Linked DNA regions of Homo sapiens: region 2 is linked to region 1. Evidence: promoter capture Hi-C in 16 types of primary human blood cells and fetal thymus (Javierre and others, 2016). All regions are on one chromosome and are shown on one strand. The core of a region is centred on a gene start or on the middle of the fragment in contact, and the rest is flanking DNA. Distances in the headings are between cores, read along the strand shown. Region 1 holds the start of FBXO41 (F-box protein 41). Region 2 overlaps RAB11FIP5 (RAB11 family interacting protein 5).

Region 1 (5,426 bases), core at 1,058-3,557:
TTTAGTAGAGATGGGGTTTCTCCATGTTGGTCAGGCTGGTCTCGAACTCCTGACCTCAGGTGATCCACCCACCTCAGCATCCCAAAGTGCTGGGATTACAGGCGTGAGCCACCGTGCCTGGCCTAATATTTGTTAAATGAATGGATAAAGGGTATGATAGGCCACTAGAGAGGTAAAGAGATCTAGGGAATTCAAAGGCAGGATGGTAATTACTTTTCAACAACCATCACCCCCTTCCCATTACAAATATTCCAAAACAAGGCTGTGCACAGTGGCTATAATCCCAGCACTTCAGGAGGCTGAGGCAGGAGGACTTGAGCCCAGGAGTTTGAGACCAGACTGGGCAACATAGGGAGACCCTGTCTCTACCAAAAGAAAAAAAATTAGGCAGGTGTGGTGGCATATGCCTGTGGTCCCAGCTGCTTGGGAGACTGAGGTGGGAGGATTGCTTGGGCCCGGAAGGTCAAGGCTGCAGTGAGCCATGATCACTCCACCGCACTCCAGCCTTCGTGACAGAGCAAGAGCCTGTCTAAAACAAACAAATATTCCAAAACAAAAACAAAAATGAAGCCATTTAGGCATTCCTAAATCTAGAAACAACTGTGTGGATATCACCAAACTCCCTCTCTGTGTCTGTCTCTTTCTCTGTTAAATTCAGATCAGGCAAAATTGAGAAGGTAATAGAGTTTGTTTTCTGGTGGCCCTGCCTCCCGGTCCCCACCTCCCCATCACATTCATGGCATCTTCTCTCTTCATCCCACTTGGCCTTCAGGGCCCAACAGTTCTTTCCCTCTCTTTCCATATAAAATCCACATGCAGAAAAGGGGCTGAGAAGGTGGAAATTACAGAAATGGGGAAGGAAGGTTTGGATGTTAACAGATGGATTTACAAGCCAAAGAAATGAAGCTCTAAGCTCGGTACTTTTAGGAGGCATCTGCCAGCAGGTGGAGGTATCCTAAGGATGGGGGAGGCAGCCGGAGTTGTCCCCATTATACCCCTATTAGGCCCCTGTGGGTGGGGAGTAAAGGAATGTCCACTGCCTCTATAAATCCCTCTGAGTCCCCCAAGAAGGCTGGGGCTCTGGCTCTCCACACCTGTGGCTGTGGCCCCAACATGTATACCTCCCAGAGTAGTCACTCCAGCCTGGCGAAGACCCTCAGGGGTCAATGCATCCAGTCCTCTGCCTTCTAGCAGCCCTGGCACTGCTTTTTCTGTTCTAAGCCCTGCCTTACTCTCCTGCTCCTGCAAACAGGCATACACCTCCCAAGGTCACACACAGGCTCCAGAACCTGGATCCCATACCCAGAAAACCATCTGGGCCCCTCGCTGCAGAGAGACCTAAGGAGAGAGCAGGCCCACACAGTACTCGCTGGCCGACTGTGGGCAGTGCACACAGGCCCCGTGTCACACACACTCACATGCAAGGCAATGCGGAGGGGCGCACACATTCAGAGACACTGTGAGCACTGTCACCAGTACAGGCACTGGATGTGAAGAGACAGACACATGCGTGCACACACATGCACACCTCCAGACTATCACACGTGCACACCGGCACGCACAGACACCCGCACAGGTGCCCAGCCAGGCCTCAACACCAGGCCCCTCCCCCAGCCCCTCAGAAACCGGTAGGGAGGGTTGGGGTTTCAGGGCGCTTCCCCTCCCCCCTCCCTCTGGCCCCTGTTCTCCAAGGTCCAGAGTCCCAGTGGGGTTCTGGAGCCCGCCCCCGCCCCAAAACCTGGCTCAGGGAGCGACAGGCGAGAGGGGGGAGGGGAAGCCTGGTCTCGAAACGTTCTGATTTTAATTTCTTAAATTAACCCCTTCCCTGCCTCTGGTCTGGCCTGCCCAGAATCCCTCCCCGTTGGGCGGCCTCGCGGGCCTCCGGAGGGCTGTGAAGGAGCCGGAAGGGGAAGAAGGGACAGTGGCTGGGGTCCTCCCTCCTTCCCTCTCCGGGAGCAGTCCCGCAGCGTGCCCGCGACTCGCCCTTACCTCCTCCACCCCGCGGCGAGGCCAGGCCCAGCGGCCCAGGGCTGGGGACGCAGAAGAGCCCCCGCGTGCCCGGTCCAGACGCAGGGCCGCCTTGGGGCCTCGGATCTCGTTCCCCTCCGCAGCCTTGGGTGGCCGCCGCGGCTAGCGCCCCCGCCTCCCTCTCGGGGCGGGGGCGGCCGAACCTCCCAGCCAGTCGCAGCGGGAGGGGCGCACGAACCCGGCGGGAGGAAGGATGGAGGAGGAGGAGGAGGAGGAGGGGGAGGAGGGGGCGCGCGGGCCGAGGAAAGCAAGGGAAGGGGGAGGGAGGCAGCACCGAGGTGGGGCGGAGCCGGCCCCTCCTCCGGGGCGGGCTCTCCAGTGAGCTGGGGAGCGGCAGATGCGCCCAGCAGCGGCTGCGCCGGGACCCCACGTTTTCCGCTCAAGGTGGTTTCGATGGGGGAGGGGTCTTCGGCGCCGCCCTAGGGGTGTAGGGATGGCTCGCGCCGCGCTCCTCCCGGGTCCCAGTCTTCCCGGCTCCCGGCACCGCCCAGTGCATTCCCCGCCCTGGGCACCTCCAGCTGTGGCTTCTGTTGCCCACCTTGAATCAGGGCCTCTCCGCCCTAACCCTAGCACTCTGGCTTGGGCCTGCTTCCACGCGGGGGCAAATCCGGGGGTGGGTGGTTCTGTGAATCCGGAAGGGGGCGGGCGCAGGCGCTACTCCTGAGACATGCGCCACGGTCCCTAAGCGGCCTCATGGGCAGCGCGCCTGGGTCGTGCACTCGGCGACCTCGGGTCAGATGCTTGGTCTCCGCGGAGACCGCCTGGGATGATCCCCTCTGGGCATTCCTAGGGAACCCGCGGAACTGCTGCTGGACCCCATCCGGAGACCCAATTCTGCTCTTAAAGAGCCGCCTAGGAACACGTGTACCCATCACAAATCCCATCCCGGACCTAGAGGAGGAGGAAAAGGCCTCCAGGTCCCTGGTTCCCTCCTACCCACTCCCACCATTTGGCTAAGATAGCAGCCAGGCTTCTTGGGACTGGAGCACCTAGACGGCCCCACCTTTGGCCTAAGGCCTACCAAGCTGGTGAGGCAGAAACAATCTGGCTGTCGTACGCTTGGAGGAAGTCCACAGGGCTGCAGTGGGGCTGAGAAACCACACAGGGTTTGGAGGCAACCAAGGCCAGAGCAGAGCTGAGGCTTGGATGAGAAAAGGGGGAAGTGTTATTTCAGCCTGAGGGTGGTGCTTGGGTAGGGCTGTGCACATGTGCCTTGAGGGGGAAGTGTTATTTCAGCCTGAGGGTGGTGCTTGGGTAGGGCTGTGCACATGTGCCTTGAGGGGCAATCTGGTTGCAGGAGAGCAGAAACCCAACTTAGTCCCAGGATTCCAGTAACTCGGGCTCATGGGAATTCTCTTTGACCCCCATCCCATTCCTGTGAAGGCAGAGGCATTGGGACATTCAGTATCAGGAAGGATAATTTGTAAACTTGTCAGTGGCTTTGGGGGAATGGCAAACTTAATAAGGACAGAGGCTGTACAGTGGCCAATCAGGTTGAATTCCCCCTCTCTCGATCTTCTCTTCCTCTCTGTAGCTCCTGAATTTCTTTCCTCCTCGCGGAGGTCTTCTGAGATTGGACAAATGAGAAATCACTTTTCCTAATACCCAAACGATAACAGCTCCTATTAACCAGGCACCAAGCATCATGCTAATAATTTTTATGCATATCATTTGCTCTTCCTAATATTATTATTATCCCTACTTTGCAGATGAAGACGCTAAAATTCAGAGCTCAACACATGGCATAGTCAAGACTTGAACTCAAGTCATCAAACTCCAAAGTCTATGCTCAACCACAGTGCCCTCCTGCCTTCTCTGCTATAATACAGTCCACTGGACCTTCACATGTCAAAATGCAGATTCCCCAAATCCATCTGCTCTTGCAGATGGCCAAAAATGTCCATATATTGTCTTGGTTTCACCTTTGTTGTGATGTTTCTCCTCACTCTGTGCATCCTGTGAATGTGTCAAAACAATTTGGGACATGCATGGCTATGTATGTGGGTGCTTTTGTGCATGTGTGCATGAGTGTGTGGATGTGTGTGTGTATGCAGGTGTACACTTGTGCATATGCAAGTGTACATAGGTGCATGTGTGTATCTGTGAGCACATGCATGTATGTGTGGGTAAGAGTTCATGCATGTGTATTTGCACCTGTGTGCATGTGTGTGCGCATATGTCTGTGAATGTATGCATGTGTATTTGTGCGCCTGTGTGCCCATGCTACATTTCACAGACAACAGTTCCTGCTTGGTTGTTATGGGAACCACAGTTCTAAAAATGTTAAACTGAATCCCACTCCATGTGAACCAGAGAAACCAAAAGAGAGAGAGAGCTCAGTGACGGAGACACCTCTGGGGTCCCAGAGCTGAGGCAAAGAATTGTGGGCTCAGCAAGAGCTGGAAAGACCCAGACTAGCCAGAGGTGTAGACCCACTCATGAGGCCTATGGTGCCTATCAGGGCCCCTTGCTGCAGACTCGGTCCTCAGTCCTGCTTTTTCCCATCTTTCCCTCCTGATCCTTTCTCCTCCCTCTCTCTTTGCCAGCTTCATGCTCTCCAACCACCTTCCTTCCCTCCTCCTTCCCCTTTCTGTTTCCCTTCTCCTTTTGGGTTTTTTTTGTTGTTGTTGTTCAACTAATTGACACAATAATTAAGCACTTTCATGTTAGACTTGGTGATATGGGGACCACACATGTGGATCAAATGAGGTTTCTGCCCTTGAAGGTGCTCAAAGGTGGGAGCATTTGGATAACTGGTGGGGGAAGGGAGGTGGCAGAGCAAAGCACAAAGGGAGAGATGACAGAGGAGGTTGGAAGGTGAATTTGGATCAGATATAGAGGGCTTTCACAGCAAGGGTGAAAAATAGGTATTGTTTTTATAGGAGGGTGGAAACCTTGGTCAGTTTGGGATGAAGCTCTTGTTTGTTGTGAATGGTGTATTAGGAAATTTTCATCATTAATGCTGGGCAATGTGGAATGAAAGAGGCATAATGGAGGCAGAGGGACCACAGGACGCAGTTTGGCATAGTGTAGGCTTGTCTCAAATAGGGTACAGGAGTTGGGGTGAAGAGGGAGAAAATAGCAAACATTCTGGGTTGCTTTCTCAAACTTCCCCCCCATATCCCACCTCATCAAGATTTGTATTACTTTTTCCCACCTTTCTGGTGTGAGAATCAGGACTTGAGTGAGCCTCTGTTACTGATGTGTGTGTCGAATTTCTCAGGTGCCCCAGGAAGTAAAATAGTTGGGAATCACTGGCCCAGCATGTAGTAGCACTCAGTATCTGTGGAGTGAGTGGATATTTAGATATGCACTGGTCTTGGAACTGGAAGGCCCAGGTTCAAGGCCCATTTCATTCTCTTATTATCTGTGTGCCCTTCAGAAAATCCCCAACATCT
Region 2 (5,426 bases), core at 1,703-4,202, 200 kb before region 1:
CCCTCGAGGCACTGGGGAGAGAGGGAGCAGGTGAAGGAGAGTTTAGTGCTATGTCGGCTATGAGCTCCTCGAAGAAGGGGTTGCTCTGCAAAGAGGTGAGGAACGGGTTGGTAAGACCCAATAATCCAGGTGGGGTGGCTTCAGGGGCGGCGGTGGTGGCGGCAGCGGCAGCAGTGGCAGCAGCGGGGGAGGCGGCTGCAAAAAGGTTAGTGCTTAGCATGGGAGCAGCAGTGGGAGCAGGAGTGGGAGGGGCCGGAGCCCAGGGGGAGCAGGGGAGGTGGTGAGGAAGAGCAGCTGGGTCAGATTCTACCTGAGGAGACACGTCCAGGCTGTGGAGGGAGACAAAACCGTGAGCCTCCTGGTTAATGCCAAGACTGGAAAGGCCCCTGAGTCCCACGCCCCACCCCCTGCTTCGGGACCAGGGGCCATAACACACACATAGGCTGGATTTACCTACTTGGGCCAGGGTACAGAGGGAAGACCCCAACATGTAACATTATCAAGTGCCTCCCAAGGAGAAATATGCCAGGCAAAGCTATTTTAATGCTCACTCCAACCCCAGAGAGAAATCATCTCATCTGATAGGCAGGATCCGATCCAAACCTAACCAAGTGTTCTTTCCTCTATCCCATGCTGAAGCTTCTAAGGTTCTACTCAACAAGGAATTTACATCTGGGAAAACTAATCTGAAAGCGCCTTACATCCCTTTTTTTTTTTTTTTTTTTGAGATAGAGTCTCTTGCCCAGGCTGGAGTGCAGTGGCGCGATCTTGGCTCACTGCAACTTCTGCCTCCCAGGCTCAAGCCATTCTTGTGCCTCAGTGTGTGCCACCACACCTGAATAATTTTTGTATTTTTAGGAGAGATGAGGTTTCACCATGTTGGCCAGGCTGGTCTCGAACTCCTGGCCTCGTGATCTGCCCACCTGGCCTCCCAAAGTTCTGGGATTACAAACATGAGCCACTAAGCCTGGCCCCTTTTAGGACTAAAAGCAAAGAAAACACCAGCTGGCATGGGGGGATAAAGAGACCAGAGAAAGGCCAGGCCTAGGTATCTGGCTGGACAAAACCAGAACTTATAGGACCTAGCAGGGCACCTAGAATTCTGACACTTGAAACAGCCTGGGTTCTATTGATCCCTTGCAGAAGCAGAAGTAATGACGGGCTGTCATTGGGTGTGACAAGGTGTCTTGTTTCTTTGAGGGGCAGCCTAACTGGCTAAGGAATATAAGCCACCTGTGGAGAACGTCAACCAAAAGGTGCCCTGATGGTCCAGCCTTTGTCTGCCAAGGCTGGCAGTGTGACAGCAGCAGCAACTCTGGATGTCACCAGGGGCTTCTCAGGGACTCTGGGGACGGGGACAGGGCAGGTGCTCTTAGGACACTGGAGAACAGGTTCTGGCCTTCATCTGTCCAGGACAGGGTCCTTTCTGGGGGAAACGCCCCCTGCACTGGTGCTTATCCACAGAGTGAGGCCGACTCCAGAGATGCGGGCAGGGGCGTGCTCTCAAACTAGAGCTTCTCACTTCCCTAGGACCCAGACAGAAGGCCAGAAAAAATGGCTGCCTTGCCACTGAGCCACCGTCAGAGGCAGACCTCGGTGGCCTCACCCTCTGCCTTCTAAGCAGTCTCCCTCCTCATGGCTGGTCTCCCAGGCCTGGCTCTAAGCTTCCAGGACCCCTGTTCCTTGGCTCCTGCCTGTCCAGGTGGAAATATCCTGGGGAAACCCCTACACATCCGACTTTTCAAGCCAACCAGCTTCTTGCACAGGAAATGTAGACAGTGAGTCCTGAAGGGGCAGAAGCCGGGCTTTGGCCAGCCAGCCCATAAGGAGTGTGGCTTGGGGTAGGAAGGGCACCTGTGGAAAGAGCATGAGCTGTCTGGAGCTTGCCCGGATTCTCCCAGGAACCCAGGGCCCAAAGAGGGCAGACCCACACAGAGGTGGACTGAGGCAGGTCAGCTCGGCAGCTACCACCAGGGGCGGACCACAGGAAGGAGTCCAACTAAACAGAGGCACAGGTAGCTCCAAAGATGGTTCTGGGAGAAGGGAGGTCAGCCTCACAGGTCCCAAACCCAGGGATTTCTCGTAAGAATCAGTTTCCCGAGAGTCTCCTGACCCTATTTTTCCCCTTACAATAACTCCCCATCCAAAGGTAAATTCTCAGTCTCATCCCCTCCACCTAAAGATGGAGGGAGAGGGAGGTAAAAATTCCCACCTGTTCCCACCCCACCTGGGCTTCCACTACTACCCTGCTTCTATGGACATGGTGAAGATACCAAAAGAGGAAGAATCGTGGGCCCAGAGCCTCAACCCCAGCAGATGCCCTTTCTCCCTTCATTCCAGACAAGCCCCAGGCCAAGGCACACATGCCTGCTGTGGGGACCAAGGGGAGTGAGAAGCAACATACACCACCACCAGGTCAAGAGCCTGACCTCAGCCCACTTGCCATTAGTGCATCCATACCACACCCAGCCCAACCCTGTCTACAGGACCCGGGCCCCCAGGAACAGGGCTAGAGCACTCTGAGCTGCTTCTCTCCCCAGCCCCCTTTATGACAATAGGCCACAGTGGTCTGAAGGAAGAGAGTCCCATCAACATTAAAAGCACTACGCTTAACTCTGCCCCCTCAGCCCTAACCTGGCCTGCACTCACCCTTGCAGTCTTTCAGCAACCTGGCTGGCAGTCAGAACTGCAGGGACAAGAGCGGCAGGGGAGTAGACTGGGAGCCTCAGGTTAGGCTCGGCAACCTCCCTCTCCCGGCCAGCTCCCCAGAGGTACACACAAACCTGTTTGTATAGAATCAGCAAAGGGCTCTCCCTGGAGGAAGGGACTCCAAGCACCAGGCCTGGCAGGCTTTACAGAGCCAGCAGTACTTCTGAGGGCATCTGTCCATCCTCCTATCTGGTAACACATCCCTCCTTCATGCCTTCCTCTTCCTTGCTCCACACCAAGTGCACATTCTGAAGGTTCTCACTTCAAAACATCTCCCTCCCACTCCACCTGGCCCAGGTCAGGAACATATTCCCACGTATGCTTGTCTTTGCAGGTCATGCTCTGAGAACAAATAAACACCTCTGCATCCTAGAACCTACTGTGCCGGCCTGGCACACTCTCCCCACCCCCAAGCGGTGGGGGCAGCAATATATGCTGATTTGTCTTCTCTTTTAGGATCAAATGCTGGGAAGGAAGTCAGAAGTCCAGATGTCTCTGCCCCTTCAACCTGAGGGAATAAAACTTTACTGCCTGCAGGAAGCTCTGAACAATTGGTTGAACCTGCCACTCAACACAGGAACCACCTGTTCACCCTGACAGCCCCTCTTCTTAAACACTACACCACAGGGCTACCTCTGTAGCTGAAGGCCAGGTGTCACTAGCAGACAACTCTTCCTTGGGCTGAAAAGAGCTCTGTGTCCTTGTTATTTCCACACACTGGTCCCAGAGATGGCAAGTGAATCTGCACAAGCTCTCTACCAGGCAATCCCCCAAAGGCCGAAGCCAGCCTTGGAGGCACGTTCATCTCTAGCAACACTGCCCTTCAGCCTTCCATCCTGAGGCACGACCTCCTGACCCTCCTGAGATGGGCCCAACGTGCAGGAAACATGTCCAAGAGACGGGTACATCCTCTCCCATCACCTGGGCACAATGAGGTGACAGGGGCCTTGTAAGCTGTAAGTAGGGAGAACGTATCATTTATCTTCCAAACCAGAACACTGTTAATACAGTAACCATGACAAGAGCATGGTTGTGAGGAGCACATGAGGAGAGCAGGACGTGAGGCTGCACTAACTCCAAGCCACTGGGAGCACATTATAGTTACTCATTTACACCACCAAGAATGCAGCCAAGCTCCTTCCGCTGCCACAGCACATTCCAGGCCCACAGGGAGGGACCTTGTTGCCTACCACACCTGGTGCAGGGAGGCACTGCAGAGACTGCCAGAGGCCACCATCATGATACACTCATCTCTATGTTGTACCACACTTATTCCCAACTTTAAAAGTTTTTGTAATCAACATTTGATCCCCTTCTGTGCATAGAGTCCTATGGTTAGTGTGGGGGGCGGGGAACAAGGGAACACAAGGATGACCCGGGATAGACACAAAGACAATCCACTTTGGCCCTGGCGGGTTTAAAATGCGTGGTCTTGCCTGTCCTCAAACACACGTGAAGTAGCCTGTGCTGCAGCTCAGTGTGAATGGCTCATAACAGGGCAGGGGAATGAGGCTAAGTCCTGTGGCCAAGACAAGCTTGGTCTCAACTACCTACTCCCTGCTCCAGCACACACTGGTAGGGGCCCAGTGTGACTGCCATGGCCCCCAGCAGACAAAGGCCACATCAGAGGAACAGCAGGACCCTCTTCTCAGCCCTGTATAGCCTCATTTGTTCCTTCCCCACGGCAGCAGCCTTTCTCTGGATACCATACTCAACACGTTCAGCCCCGGGCCTCTCTGTGGGGCATCAGTGCCACATGGGAGCACTAGAGGGCGCCGCTGTTCTTCCTAGTGAGGAACATCCCACAATCTGCAATGGTAGCCCCAAGGCAGAGGCCCCCATTCTCTGGACCTGGGGACAGGCTCCCCAGGCCCCAGCTGGAGATCCTGCAGCTACATTCAGTCACTCCAGTTCTGGGTCTAACCCACAGCTTCCTGCCATGAGGCAGCCCACCTCTCCTTCTCTCCTCAGAGGCCCTAAGCAAGCCCTCTGGGGAAGCGCCAACAGTCCTTTCTTCCAGGCCAGCCTTCCCCTCCCTGCAAGGCACACAAGGCCAGGATGCTGCTGATTGAGCTCAAAGGCCAGGTGTCACATCTGTCCAGGCCAGGCCATCTTACCCAAAGCACAGCCCCTCCCACCCCATCTGCATGCACGGCCACAGAGCCTGGCCCTGCAGCCGCCACCTGCAAATAGGCCCCATCTTGGGAGGGATGCTGAGTGCCCTCCATCCTGCTAAAGACAAGGCTCAGAATTCAAGTGACAGCAGGACAGAAACCTCAGCTTCCTTATGGCCATCAGTGACCCAAATCCTCCAGATTCCAAGAGGCCATTAGGAGATATGGGGAAGCAGGAGAAAGAGGATGGAGACTGTAAGTGCCCCAGGCCAGTGACAACCCCACAGACTCACAGCCTGTGGGAGTCCAAGCCCAAAGCCTGGGCAGGACTCACCTACAAATGGCCCCAGCATTCACCTTGCCCCAGAAAAGGCCCAGAGACACCGTACGCACAACCACACTGAGCCTGTGCTCTGTGCCCCTTTCAATCCAGGCCCTCAGCTCCTCCCAGCAAATGCCCTGTCCAGATCTCCTGCTACCTCCCTCTACCCTACCACCTCCAAATACCTCTGGCTGGCTGTCACAGGGACACCAGGCTCAGCCTGGCATCTGGGAAAGGCCTGTCCCCTTCTTCCCAATCTTCCCCTAGGCCGCAGATGGCCA

The links. Contacts are between HindIII fragments. The CHiCAGO score rates a contact against its expected background, and 5 or more counts as called.
Region 2: a fragment that was not itself captured here is called in contact with the fragment with the promoter of FBXO41 in region 1 in 1 of 17 cell types (total CD8 T cells); the score reaches 5.8 in total CD8 T cells.

Annotation. Positions count from the first base shown.
Region 1 is chr2:73,282,171-73,287,596 of GRCh38, forward strand. FBXO41 (F-box protein 41) reads right to left here and starts at 2,308. Exons shown (of 13, transcript NM_001371389.2): 1 at 1,990-2,308. LOC124907840 (a long non-coding RNA gene) reads left to right here and starts at 2,364. Exons shown (of 2, transcript XR_007087013.1): 1 at 2,364-2,412; 2 at 3,738-3,949. RefSeq lists silencers at 1,845-1,934, 1,955-2,364, 3,095-3,274, 3,285-3,334. The HindIII fragment of the contact is 9,972 bases long and covers 1-5,426 here.
Region 2 is chr2:73,081,335-73,086,760 of GRCh38, forward strand. It overlaps RAB11FIP5 (RAB11 family interacting protein 5), which reads right to left. Exons shown (of 6, transcript NM_001371272.1): 4 at 1-329. Among named protein-coding and RNA genes, the nearest start is that of SFXN5, 12 kb to the left of the region's middle. RefSeq lists enhancers at 3,047-3,341, 4,560-4,609. The HindIII fragment of the contact is 2,580 bases long and covers 1,663-4,242 here.